Linked DNA regions of Homo sapiens: all the other regions are linked to region 1. Evidence: promoter capture Hi-C in human tissues and cell types (Jung and others, 2019). All regions are on one chromosome and are shown on one strand. The core of a region is centred on a gene start or on the middle of the fragment in contact, and the rest is flanking DNA. Distances in the headings are between cores, read along the strand shown. Region 1 holds the start of UGGT2 (UDP-glucose glycoprotein glucosyltransferase 2). Region 2 has its middle 59 kb from the start of LINC00456. Region 3 overlaps MBNL2 (muscleblind like splicing regulator 2).

Region 1 (4,464 bases), core at 44-2,543:
GACCTTCCAAAGTGCTGGGACTACAGGCGTGAGCCACCATGCTCAGGCTTATTGGCACTTTTCTGTGCACTTTTAAATGTAATCCTCTAAATCACTCTTCTCCACCTTTCCTGTGCATAGGAATCACCTGTGGTTCCCGTTAAATTGGAGATCTTGATTCATTAGGTCTGGGGCGGGGCCTGAGCTTCTGCATTTCCATTGAGCTCACAGCTGAAGCCTACCCTGGACCACACCTTCCAATGGAAAAGGCTCCAGTGTGATTTCTAGCCACTAGTATTATCTGCGAACTTGGGAGAAATAAAATGCAAGTTCTCGGCCCCCGCAAGGGCTCTACTGAATCCGAAACACTGTGGGGAGGCCCACCACTCTGCAGTGTTTTAACAAGCAAGTGGTTAAAGTTTGAGAGCCACCCGTAAGTCACGGGTTTCCTAACATGATTGGACACTGGAATCACCTGCGGATTTTTTTTTTTTTTTTTTTTTTGAGACGGAGTCTCGCTCTGTTGCCCAGGCTGGAGTGCAGTGGCGGGATCTCGGCTCACTGCAAGCTCCGCCTCCTGGGTTCACGCCATTCTCCTGCCTCAGCCTCCCAAGTAGCTGGGACTACAGGCGCCCGCCACTACGCCCGGCTAATTTTTTGTATTTTTAGTAGAGACGGGGTTTCACCGTTTTAGCCAGGATGGTCTCGATCTCCTGACCTCGTGATCCGCCCGCCTCGGCCTCCCAAAGTGCTGGGATTACAGGCGTGAGCCACCGCGCCCGGCCTGCGGATTTTAACTAATACTACTGATGCCGCATCTCACCCCCCCTCCCGAGATTCTCAGGTACGGGGCGTGGCCTTGGCGGCGGCCTTATAAAAGCTCTCCCAGGTGATTCCAACCTGTAGTAACACTTGAGAACTGCGTGAGGTGGGGACTTCAACTTTAACTGGACTTATTTTCCTCCTATGTAAAAGGTGGACAATATGCAAGTGGTCCTGACTTTGCTTCCAGATTTTGGCAACTCCAGAGCCCTAGTTCGGTCTGGAGAGCCAGCTTCCCGCCCCGTGTCCTAAGGCCTCTGTCCGAGAACCCAAAGTCCTGGGAATGGACCCGCGGGAGCGGACCCGCGGGAGCATCTGTGACGCCGCTCAGCAACCCGGCGCCGCCCCGGCGGCTCCGACGTGGCCCAGTGTCCGGCTGGCGTGGGCTCTCCAGGCCGCACCCACTAAACCGCGCCGGAGCGGGACACGCATGCGCCGGTCTGGACCCGGCACCCAGTAACGGACTCGAGCTCCTCCCACCGGAAGTGGGCAGCCGCGCAGCGGGAAGAGCCGGCCGAAGCGTGGCGGCCACAGACTGTGGGTACCGGGTCCGAGGGACTCGCGCTTTTCTCTCCGTGCCATGGCGCCAGCGAAAGCCACGAACGTGGTGCGGCTGCTACTAGGCTCCACAGCGCTGTGGCTTTCGCAGCTCGGCTCCGGGACGGTCGCCGCGTCCAAGTCGGTGACTGCCCACTTGGCCGCGAAGTGGCCCGAGACCCCGCTGCTGCTGGAGGCAAGGTGGGTGCGGGCCGGGCCCTCGTCCGGGCGGGTGTGGGCGCGCTGCCACCCTCAGCCGCGCTTTCTTCGTGCTCGCAGCGGGTGTCTGGCTCCCACCCGGGTTCTCCAGACGCCCCCGCTCTGGCCCTGAGCATCACCACCTCCTTCCTTCCCGACCCGGGGCGGCTTCTCGGTTCCCGTGCAGCACTCACTTGCAGTTCCTTTCCCCCTCAGTCTTACTTTACCTACGATTTTTAAAGCTTCCCTGCCCTGCTTTAATACGTTGGGATGTATTAGCATTTACGCGTGGCACTTAACGCAAGAGCTTCTACTGGGGTAGGCAGTTCTGTTCAGACAGTGCTTAAAGTACCTAGTTTCGTAATGATGACATCATACCATCAGCTCCTAGGCTTACTATGGGGAGGGCAGCTTCCTGCAAGGTAATATTTTTCCTGTATCTCTTCCAACGGAATTAGTTCATGACCTGTCATTTACTCTGCAGAACAAAACTTGTAGCTATTGCATTTTGCCCTTTAGTATTCTAGTTGAGTAAAATTAGAAAGTTCTTTCTCTTAGCAAAAATGAAGTTTTACACCAATGACTTAATGGCTGTTCACCACAGCAACAGTGTGTGTCCCTAAAAAGAGACTCCATGACTCCACATAAGTTCATGTATTTGATGCTAAAAGTTCTTTTTTTTTTTCATTTCTATAGTTTATTGGGGAACAGGTGGTGTTTGGTTACATGAGTAAGTTCTTTAGTGGTGATTTCTGAGATTTTGGTACACCCATCACCCCATCAGTATATACACTGCACCCAATTTGTAGTCTTTTATCCCTCACTCCCTTCTCAACCTTTCCCCCGAGTCCCCGAAGTCCATTGTGTCAATCTTATGCCTTTGCATCCTCATAGCTTAGTTCCCACATATCAGTGAGAACATACTATATTTGGTTTTCCATTTCTGACTTACTTCACTTAGAATAATAGTCTCTAATCTCATCCAGGTTGCTGTGAATGCCATTAATTGATTCCTTTTTATGGCTGAGTAGTGTTCCATCATATATATGCCACAGTTTATCCACTCGTTGATTGATGGGTATTTGGATTGGTTCCACATTTTTGCACTTGTGAATTGTGCTGCTATAAACATACTTGTGCAACTATCTTTTTCATGACTTCTTTTCCTCTGGGTAGATACCTAGTAGTGGGATTGCTGGATCAAATGGTAGATCTACTCTTAGTACTTTGAGGACTCCCCACACTGTTTTCCATAGTGGTTATACTAGTTTACATTCCCACCAGCAGTGTAGAAGTGTTCCCTGTTCGCTGCATCCACGCCAACATCTATTATTTATTTTTATTTTTTTATTATGGCCATTCTTGCAGGAGTAAGGTGGTATCGCATTGTGGTTTTGATTTGTGTTTCCCTGATCATTAGTATGTTGAGCATTTTTTCATGTTAGCCATTTATATATCTTTTGAGAATTGTCTATTCATGTCCTTAGCCCACTTTTTGATGGGACTGTTTTTTTTTTCCTGCTGATTTGAGTTCCTTGTAGATTCTGGATATTAATCCTTTTTCAGATGTATAGATTGTGAAGATTTTCTCCCGTTTTGTGGGTTGTCTGTTTACTCTGCTGACTATTCCTTTTGCCGTGCAAAAGCTGTTTAGTTTAATTAAGTCCCAGCTATTTTTTTTATTATTATACTTTAAGTTCTAGGGTACATGTGCACAACGTGCAGGTACATAGATATACATGTGCCATGTTGGTGTGCTGCACCCATTAACTCATCATTTACATTAGGTGTATCTCCTAATGCTATCCCCCGCTCCCCCAACCCCACAACAGGCCCTGGTGTGTGATGTTCCCCATTGTGTGTCCAAGTATTCTCATTGTTCAGTTCCCACCTATGAGTGAGAACATGAGGTGTTTGGTTTTCTATCCTTGTGATAGTTTGCTGAGAATGATGGTTTCCAGCTGCATGCATGTCCCTACAAAGGACATGAACTCATCCTTTTTTATGGCTGCATAGTATTCCGTGGTGTATATGTGCCACATTTTCTTAATCCAGTCTATCATTGACGGACATTTGGGTTGGTTCCAAGTCTTTGCTATTGTGAATAGTGCCGCAATAAACATGTGTGTGCATGTGTCTTTATAGCAGCATGATTTATAATCCTTTGGGTATATACCCAGTAATGGGATGGCTGGGTCAAATGGTATTTCTAGTCCTACATCCTTGAGGAATCGCCACAATGTCTTCCACAATGGTTGAACTAGTTTACAGTCCCACCAACAGTGTAAAAGTGTCCCTATTTCTCCACATCCTCTCCAGCACCTGTTGTTTCCTGACTTTTTAATGATCGCCCTTCTAACTGGTGTGAGATGGTATCTCATTGTGGTTTTGATTTGCATTTCTCTGATGGCCAGTGATGATGAGAATTTTTTCATGTGTCTGTTGGTTGCATAAATGTCTTCTTTTGAGAAGTGTCTGTTCATATCCTTCACCCACTTTTTGATGGGGTCGTTTAATTTTTTTCTTGTAAATTTGTTTAAGTTCTTTGTAGATTCTGGATATTAGCCCTTGGTCAGATGGGTAGATTGCAAAAATTTTCTCCCATTCTGTAGGTTGCCTGTTCACTCTGATGGTAGTTTCTTTTGCTGTGCAGATGCTCTTTACTTTAATTAGATCCCATTTGTCAGTTTTGGCTTTTGTTGCCATTGCTTTTGGTGTTTTAGACATGAAGTCCTTGCCCATGCCTATGTCCTGAATGGTATTGCCTAGGTTTTCTTCTAGAGTTTTTATGGTTTTAGATCTAACATTTAAGTCTTTAGTCCATCTTGAATTAATTTTTGTATAAGGTGTAAGGAAGGGATCCAGTTTCAGCTTTCTACATATGGCTAGCCAGTTTTTCCAGCACCATTTATTAAATAGGGAATCCTT
Region 2 (4,244 bases), core at 1,128-3,627, 1.1 Mb before region 1:
CCCAGACACATTACAAATTTTATCTCTTTATCTTCACAACCCTAAGAGAGAGGTATTTTTGTTCTCCTTTTCCCTGGATAATCTTGGGCTCCAAGAGGTTAAATAAATTCCTCAAGGGCTTCTGGCCAGATAAGAGGCAGGATAAGGAGCCACACTCTGATCATGCCAAGTCCAGACAGAACCTTTACTCTCTACTATAAGAGAGTAAAGAGCAAGATGCCTGGTATTTCAAAGATTTCTAAATACCTATTCATCCTATGTGACTAAGTAGACTGTGTGTTTATTTCTCCTTTTTGTGTTTATGTTGTTAACTATATGCTTCTAGATAGTAAGGCAACAAGCCTTATGAGAATGGTTACTGATGTGCCTTTTTGTTTGTTTGTTTGTTTGTTTTGAGACAGAGTCTCGTTCTCTCACCCAGGCTGGAGTGCAGTGCGGTGATCATGGCTCACTGCAGCCTCGAACTCCTGGGCTCAAGAAATCCTCTCTCCTTGGCCTCTCAAAAGTGCTAGAATTACAGGCATGAGCCACTGTGCCTGGCTACTGATGTGCCTTTTCCTGAAGAGATTAAAGTGGAGAGGAGGAAAGAGAATAAGAATGTGGAAGGAAGAAACGAAGTCCATCTTCTAGGTAGAGTGGGATAGATCTGAAATGCGTCTGATGTTTCTTTAAGAATACTACATGAGGAAGATTTAAATTTGTATCTGGTAACATACAGCACAAACATAGGCAACACAACCTACCAAAGCATGTCAAGGGCAAAAGGCAGTGGCTTCCAGTAGTCAGTTGCAGGCACTGTCACCAATGTGCTGAAGAAGTCTACAAATTGAATGATTTTGTCCTTTTACCTTCCTTTATCAACAGCACCGCCAAACTCTGTTCCTCAAAGTGCTGTCTCATTTCCTCCAGCTCTAGAATCTTTATGTTTTTGGAACATCTCCCTATAGAAGGAATCATCTCCCTTCTTGTTTCATAGTTTTTTACATTTAAAAATGACCTCTTGCCCCACACGCCCACTTCTCAATCTTCCACCTTTATTCAGGACTGCCAATTTCTCACTGGGTGATAGAGTCATTTTACACTAAGGAGTGAATGACTAATAAACATTTCCAACCAGAGGAATGCACCTGAAAAAAGATATATATAAGACAATAAGAAAGAAATGATGATTAAGTGAGTTTTCAAGTAGTTAACATGTAGAATTATTTCTAGGTGGGGTCCAGGAATGGGTATATGTTTATTGCAGGGTGGACTGGGATTCTGATTCTCTCTGGTTGGTCTGAGAACAAAATTCAATATGGAAATTGAACTCAGAGAGGCTCTGATCCAAGTCAAGCACAATATAAGAACAAAGAGGCTGGAAAGAGAATCAGGAATGTTTAGGTCTAACCTGGAAAGAAGAGCTTAGTGCCACAAAGCAGAGACCAAATGGAGCAATGGAGGCAATAATGCCACCAATGGAAGTTGCCATGGAAACCCTCATCAGCAAGCAGGCAATTGGATTTTGGAAACTGACCGAAGCAAGACTTGATGGCAAGAGAGAGAAGAAAAGGATGAAGCCCTAAAATGAAGTCAGACATTGAAGACGAATGGAGTGACCCCATTGCCCTTGTGCCAAGGAAAGTGCACATCACTGGTACATGACTAAACATGACAGATCTGAACAGCCAATCTCTCCAGCCAGGAGGTCCATGAGCAAATGTGTGAGAATCTGCCTTTTGGTGGCATTACAGAGCTCATGATTCATCCTGCAGAACCATGTGATAGGTGGGTGGAATCTCTTTTAAAATATTTCCAAGAAGAATAGGTAGCATGTCCATACCTAATTTTTAGCAGAAATTATTTCTCCACTGAAATATTAAGAGCAGAGGCAGGTAAAATGATTACTGCCATGATTTTTCCCACTCAGTATCCCCTTCTGAATGTGGATATGAGGATTGTGCCAGCATACCAAAGATTGATTTCTCTGTTTTCTGGCTGAAACTGATCCTGAAATTATATGATTATATGGACTTACAACATTGGCACTCGTAATGCACATGGATTGGTTTTCCATAAATTATCACTTGAAGAAAAGTCTGTGGTACTAAATGTACACATGTGGTTACAAAAATTTTCCAGAGAGGAAAAGCCGAGAGAATGCCAGAGAAAAGAAAGAACTCTTTCAGCATCACACAGGAACTACAGAGGGCTGATTCAAAAGTGGAGTATACACATATCACTGATCCCTGAAATATGGAATGAGAGATTCCTCAGGACAATGAATACGCTCTTGGAAATAGTGTATATTAGAAAAAAGTAAAACAAGTTACCATGATGTAATATTGTATGTAGCAAGAAAAGAGCAGGTGCCATCAGGAATTTGAAGATCTGCCATGAGTGTTTCTGACCAGAGTAATGCTTCTATGTTCAATAATATAATATATATGCATTATGATCCTAGTAACTTCCTTTTGTAATTATAAGTTATATCCCAACTTGAGGCTGGCTACAAGAAGGACTTGAAGTGAAATGACAGGATAGAAAAATGCTATGCTTTTAAGGAATTGCTATGTTATTAGCTTAATGCTATAACCTTGACAGGCCCAACTGAGGAGTGTGCTGGGACTTCAAGTCCAGACTAGAATAGAAGAAAAGAGACTAGAACAAAAGAGGGATGAGGCATGACCAGGTCACAACAGCAAAGTTGGCGTATGATTTGTCACCTGGAGAGAGGGGGCGAGGATTTAATGGTTAATCACATTGACTGGAACCAAAAAGGAGATTATAGCCAAAGAATGAGTAAAGAACTAGAGCAGATGTTTCCAGGCAGTAGTAAATATTGAAGTTGAGTGATGGCAGCCCTTTGGTTCCAGAAAGGTTGTCCAATTCAGAGCACGACTTCAAGAGGTAGAGTAGGCATGAGAGTTAAGGGGTGAGAGTTAAGTTCCCTCATATGACAGGCCAGTAAAATTTAGGAAAGGCACCAAAGTCTTAGCCAAGTGGGCTGGGATCCACCACGTGGGGTTGAATGCATGCAATGGACCCAAAACACAAGCCAGGAACGTAAGCAGGCATGGAATCTTATAGATTTCTGCAACCACAGAGGGAATAAAAGGCTACATCTTAGCAAGCTTGAAGCTGAGACTTGGCTTAAAATCATTTCCATATAATAGACTGCCTGATTTGTGGTAGTCAAGGTTTGGTTGAGAAAGGAGAAACCACTGCAGATATTTCCAGCAGAAAAGATTTGATGCAGGGAGTTTAAGGTTCACAAGACCTTTGGGAGGCTAAGGGAACAAAGGTCAGTAAGAGCTGCTTTTAGAATTTAAGAAAACTTACAACTATAATTTGTCAATTAATAATTAAAAAGTAAAAATATTAAAAAAGAATTTAGGAAATCAGGAAGTTCAGGAATTGCAGGAAACTTTAATCAAGATCTCAGATGCCTGCAACAGCCCTATAGGTGATTTACAAAAGGACTCTTGGAAGTCATGGTCAAATCTCACGCAGGCCATCTGCAAAAGTCCCTAAACCTGACTGTTGCTGCCACAGGAACAATACTTCTGTCTCCTTCTCTTCTACCTCTGAATTTCACTTAAGATCTTCCTATTCACAGAATTGAAGGAGGCTTCTGGGAAATGTAGTTCCCAGGCTTCGAAGCCCCTGTGATCCAGAACACAGAAAGGGGGAAAGAGATAATCTGGCACAAGGCCTAAGTGAAAAACAATATCCCGAGTGGAGGTAAAGATGTGATACTAAAATAACTCCCAGAAATGGGTCAGATTGAAACAGGAATTTGGTAAGGCTGGGGCGTGGGATGAACACTGAGGAACAAAGTCCAGTAGATCCTGTGGAGGCAGCAGATGCTACGTAAGTGCTTGGAAGGACAGATTGAAGAGCAGGTGAGACCATGTTGGGTAAGACAAGCAAGATGGGGTGTATGGTGTGTGCAGTGCTACTACCTCCAAGAGCGACATGATCCACTTTATGTTCTAGAACTTTCATTAAAGCATGGGGTATAAATGAAAGGCATATAGCACAATTGTCTGGGAGGCAGGATTGCCAGTTAAAAGGAAGCTTCTATAGTCGTCCAGCCATTTAACTGATAGTTATTGAAAATGTCCTATGAATAAAACATTCTTCCAGACTAGGAAAAAATTAAAGTAGCCTGAATTAGAGCAATAGTATTGGAGCTAGAAAGAAAGAGAAATGTGAAAGGAAATTGAAAAAGAAGTTGATAGAACTTGACAACTGAATGGAGA
Region 3 (4,024 bases), core at 286-2,785, 1.3 Mb before region 1:
AGAATCTCAGCATGGGATCCTAGTTGGAAGTAGGGTCTTGACAGATGTAATCAAGTTACAGGGAGGACATTAGGGTGGACTCTAATCCAGTATGACTGGTGTCCTTATAAAAAGAGAAAATTTAGTCACAGAGATCCATGCATAGAGGGAAGACGATGTGAAAGAGACACAGGGAAAATATGGCTATCTTTTTGTTTTTAAGACAGAGTCTTATCCTGTCGCCCAGGCTGGAGTGCAGTGGTGCGATCTCGGCTCACTGCAACCTCCGCCTCCCGGGTTCAAGCGATTCTCCTGCCTCAGTCTCCCAAGTAACTGGGATTACAGGCACCCACCACCATGCCCGGCTAATTTTTTGTATTTTTAATAGAGATGGGGTTTTACCATGTTGGCCAGGCTGGTCTCGAACTCTTAATCTCAGGTGATCCACCCACCTCGGCCTCCCAAAGTGCTGGGATTATAGGCATGAGCCACCCTGCGTGGCCGAAGATGGCCATCTTTAAGCCAAGGAATGGCTGAGGCTATCAGAGCTGTGAGAGAGGTCTAAAATAGACCCTTCCAGGCTGGGAGCAGTGGCTCACGCCTGTAATTCCAGCACTTTGGGAGCCTGAGGTGGGTGGATCATGAGGTCCGGAGATCAAGACCATCCTGGCTAACATGGTGAAACCCCGGCTCTACTAAAAATACAAAAAATTAGCCGGGCATGGTGACACACACCTGTAGTCCCAGCTACTCGGGAGGCTGAGGCAGAATCTCTTGAACCCGGGAGGCGGAGGTTGCAGTGAGCCGAGATCGCACCATTGCACTGCAGCCTGGGTGACAGAGTGAGAGACTGTCTCAAAAAAAAAAAAAAAAGACCCTTCCAGAGAATCTTCTGAGGGAGCATAGCCTTTGACCCTTGGATTTTGGACCTCTGGCCTCCACAACTGTAAGAATATAAATTTCTGTTGCTCTAAGCCATCCAGTTTATGATACTGGTTATAGCAGCCTTGGGAAGCGAGCACAGCCACCTCTAACAAATGTTAGATAATGTATTTTGTCTTGAGATTGGCGGTTACACCAGCAAAATACTACAGTCTCCTCCAACACTAAGAGTTGTTTCTGTGAATGTGTATTCAATTTTTTTCATGATCTTAGGTAATGAGATCTCCCTATTTGCTCAAAAATAAACTATAACAACCCCCAAATCCCTAACAAGTACGATGATTTTCTACCAGTGAAACTAGTCAGCTTAAATGCCATCCGATTTTTCCCACGGAAGATTTAATAGAAGAGATTTATTTTAGTAAAAGACAAAATGTTTCACTAAAGAACTCATTAGTAATGCATAAAGGGCTACTGGGTCTCTGAAGATCCATTTTCAAAGAGAAATGTTGGGATAATTTTTGTATTCTGATTACAGAGAATGACTTGATAAAAATCATCCTTGATATTAAAATTGCATGGAGGGGAAAGAAAATCATTCAGTCTAGCAGGATGGAAGTCAAAGAAAATGGGTGAATGTGGCCAGCAATTAATTTGGAGTTGCTTTTACAAGCTAGATAGATGTGCATTGGCAGAGTCTCACCCGTGACACGGGTGGGGTCATCTTCGCTGGCACTTTGACATACAGAGGGACAGTGGTAGGGAGGAGGACAGGGGAGAGGCCTGCTCTATTCAGCTGGAGTCTTCTATCACCCTCACGACCACCCTGCCTATTCATTCCTTCTCATCAGGCCCAGCCTTTAGTGCCCTTGGTCATTGCCAGAGCTCCCGCCTGGCCAGCACTCCCCCAGTGAGACCCAAGTCCCCAGAATCAATCCTCAAGTGACACTGAATCTTTGCACCAGCTGATGCTGACTCATGGCCCTAGCTTTGACTAGACAGCTGCTCTGTTTCAAGCCCTAACACCCGCCGGGTGTCCCACGTCTTATGCTACAGGGTCCCGCAGGCTTCTCTTTTTGCCTCCAAGTTCAAGGTCTGAGAACCTGCCTCCCTCCAGGCTCCTTACCAGAGTGAAGCTCTGCCTTTTGCCTTTGCCTCCAGAAAACCCTGCCTGTAGGCTGGGGTCCTGTGTCCCCTGCTGTGCAGCTGTTGCTCACTCACCCTTTCTGAGGGTCCCCATCCAGGGTTTTTCTTCACTGTGGTCCACCCTCAGTAGATACCTGCTAATTTTTCTCAGAATTCCTGCTGCTGCATGTTTCTCCAGTACGTACCTAGAGAGGGCGGAGACCTTGAGACAACACACCCAGGCTCACAGCATTGAAATCTCCATCTCTGTGTCCCAGTGGGCAGAACTAACTTCAGACCCTGGGGTCTCTTCTGGTCAAATTCAGCCCAACTTAGTGAGCTATGACATTACTTCCTCTTTCTCTTAGGACCTGCCTGTAAACTGTGGAAGAAGTCTTTTCCCTCAGCAAACCCCAGCTGTTCTTCATCTGTCACTGCTGGCTGGATACTTAAGCTCTGGGTAGTCCAGAAACTGCTAGTCAAATGTATTTACAAACTGAATTGATGCATTATTATGAAGTCCAATTTTTTATTTTTTAAAAAGGAATTACATAGATGGTAATAATACTTGGTAACAGCTTTTGAATGCAGTCAAATACCATTGTTATTATTTTTACTCATTAGATGCATGCTAGACACCGTGCTGTTTCACATGCAAAATCTCAGACAAACATTTGAGAGGGGGAGGTGCTCTTAATATCCCTATTTGACAGACAGAGAACTGAGGCCTGAGGAGATGAATGATCTTGTCCTAGGGTGTGCAAGTAGCAAGATACAGAACCAGGATTTGAACCCAGGCAGTGTGACTCCAAAGCCACTGCTCTTAATCACTATACTTCTTCCACACATTCATATGGTTATAAAAACTAATTATGTTTGCCGAATTCTCACAATGTGCCAAGCATGCCTCTAAGTGCTTTACAGGAATGATCTCCTTAGTGTTCACAATATGCCTTTCAGGTAGGTCTTATTTTTATGCCCATTTTGCAGATGTGGAAACCAAGGCACAGAGAGGTTAGATAACTTGTCTAAAGTGACACAGCTAGTAAGAGGAAGATCCAGACTTGAACCTACTCAGCCTGGCTCCAGAACCACCACACTCTCTGAATACAAATTATTGATTCCTACTTTATGTCTGGTACTGTGCTAGGCCCAAGGGGCTACAAAGATGAAAAGCAAACTGTTCTTATCTTTGAGAAACTCTACATACATAAATCTGCAATGCATATACACATGAATGGAAGGGAAGAAAGCATGGTAATAAGTAATATTTAAGTATAATATTAGCCAGAAGGATCTATGTAATGTTTCATAAATCATACAGTTTTCAAAATCCCATTAAAGTGATCGAGTATATTTTATAAATATGGTTGGCTTTTAATACTTCAAACTAATAATTGAAGTGAATAACCAAAGTAGGCCACTGCCATCATATCTCCGTCTATTAGGGCAAGACAAGGCACCACTAACAGCCTCTGGGACTGCCCTGTTACAGGGAGATCACAAGCTTTCAGAATCTGCAAATGAGGCACCTGGATTTCAGACAGCCAAAAGGATTATGCATACATAAAACTATCATTTAAGAGTTCTGCATGCATACTTTAGGCACATATCAATGCTTTGCTTATGGCAAAAGACTAAAGCCCCAGATGAGGGAATTTTCCCTAGGAACAGTAGGGTGGGAGAACTGTCCACCTCCTTCAGATGACCCCAATATGAAACACGTGCCTGTCCTGAGCATGTCATACTTTGACACTCTGTGGGGTCCACTGGGAGGGTACGCAGTTCTGAGCTATTTTTACAGGATTGATATTTTGTTCATTTTATCCACCCAGTTTTACCTGGTTGCCTCTGTGATCCACAGACAGTTCAGCAGCGAAAAGCATATGATCCCCGGCCCTGGAACAGAGTGACACTTATAGGACCACACGGGACTGAAGCCCAATTGATGCATCATCCATCACAAAGCTTGGCATCTCCCACATTGAGTTACCCAGCCCTAGATACATACCCACCCTGTCTCCTGCATCCCCTGCCA

The links. The method cuts DNA at HindIII sites, captures the fragments that hold promoters and counts their contacts. A contact is called where the count stands out against the background at its distance.
Region 2: a contact is called between a fragment that was not itself captured here and the fragment with the promoter of UGGT2 in region 1, in 1 of the 25 tissues and cell types used here (dorsolateral prefrontal cortex).
Region 3: a contact is called between a fragment that was not itself captured here and the fragment with the promoter of UGGT2 in region 1, in 1 of the 25 tissues and cell types used here (dorsolateral prefrontal cortex).

What each region holds. Positions count from the first base shown.
Region 1 is chr13:96,050,230-96,054,693 of GRCh38, reverse strand. UGGT2 (UDP-glucose glycoprotein glucosyltransferase 2) reads left to right here and starts at 1,293. Exons shown (of 39, transcript NM_020121.4): 1 at 1,293-1,539. The coding sequence starts at 1,382. RefSeq lists an enhancer at 1,032-1,531. The HindIII fragment of the contact is 5,467 bases long and covers 1-3,675 here.
Region 2 is chr13:97,118,011-97,122,254 of GRCh38, reverse strand. No RefSeq gene overlaps it. Among named protein-coding and RNA genes, the nearest start is that of LINC00456, 59 kb to the left of the region's middle. The HindIII fragment of the contact is 3,950 bases long and covers 403-4,244 here.
Region 3 is chr13:97,317,090-97,321,113 of GRCh38, reverse strand. The region is part of intron 2 of MBNL2 (muscleblind like splicing regulator 2); the gene reads right to left. Among named protein-coding and RNA genes, the nearest start is that of MBNL2, 97 kb to the right of the region's middle. The HindIII fragment of the contact is 6,416 bases long and covers 1-4,024 here.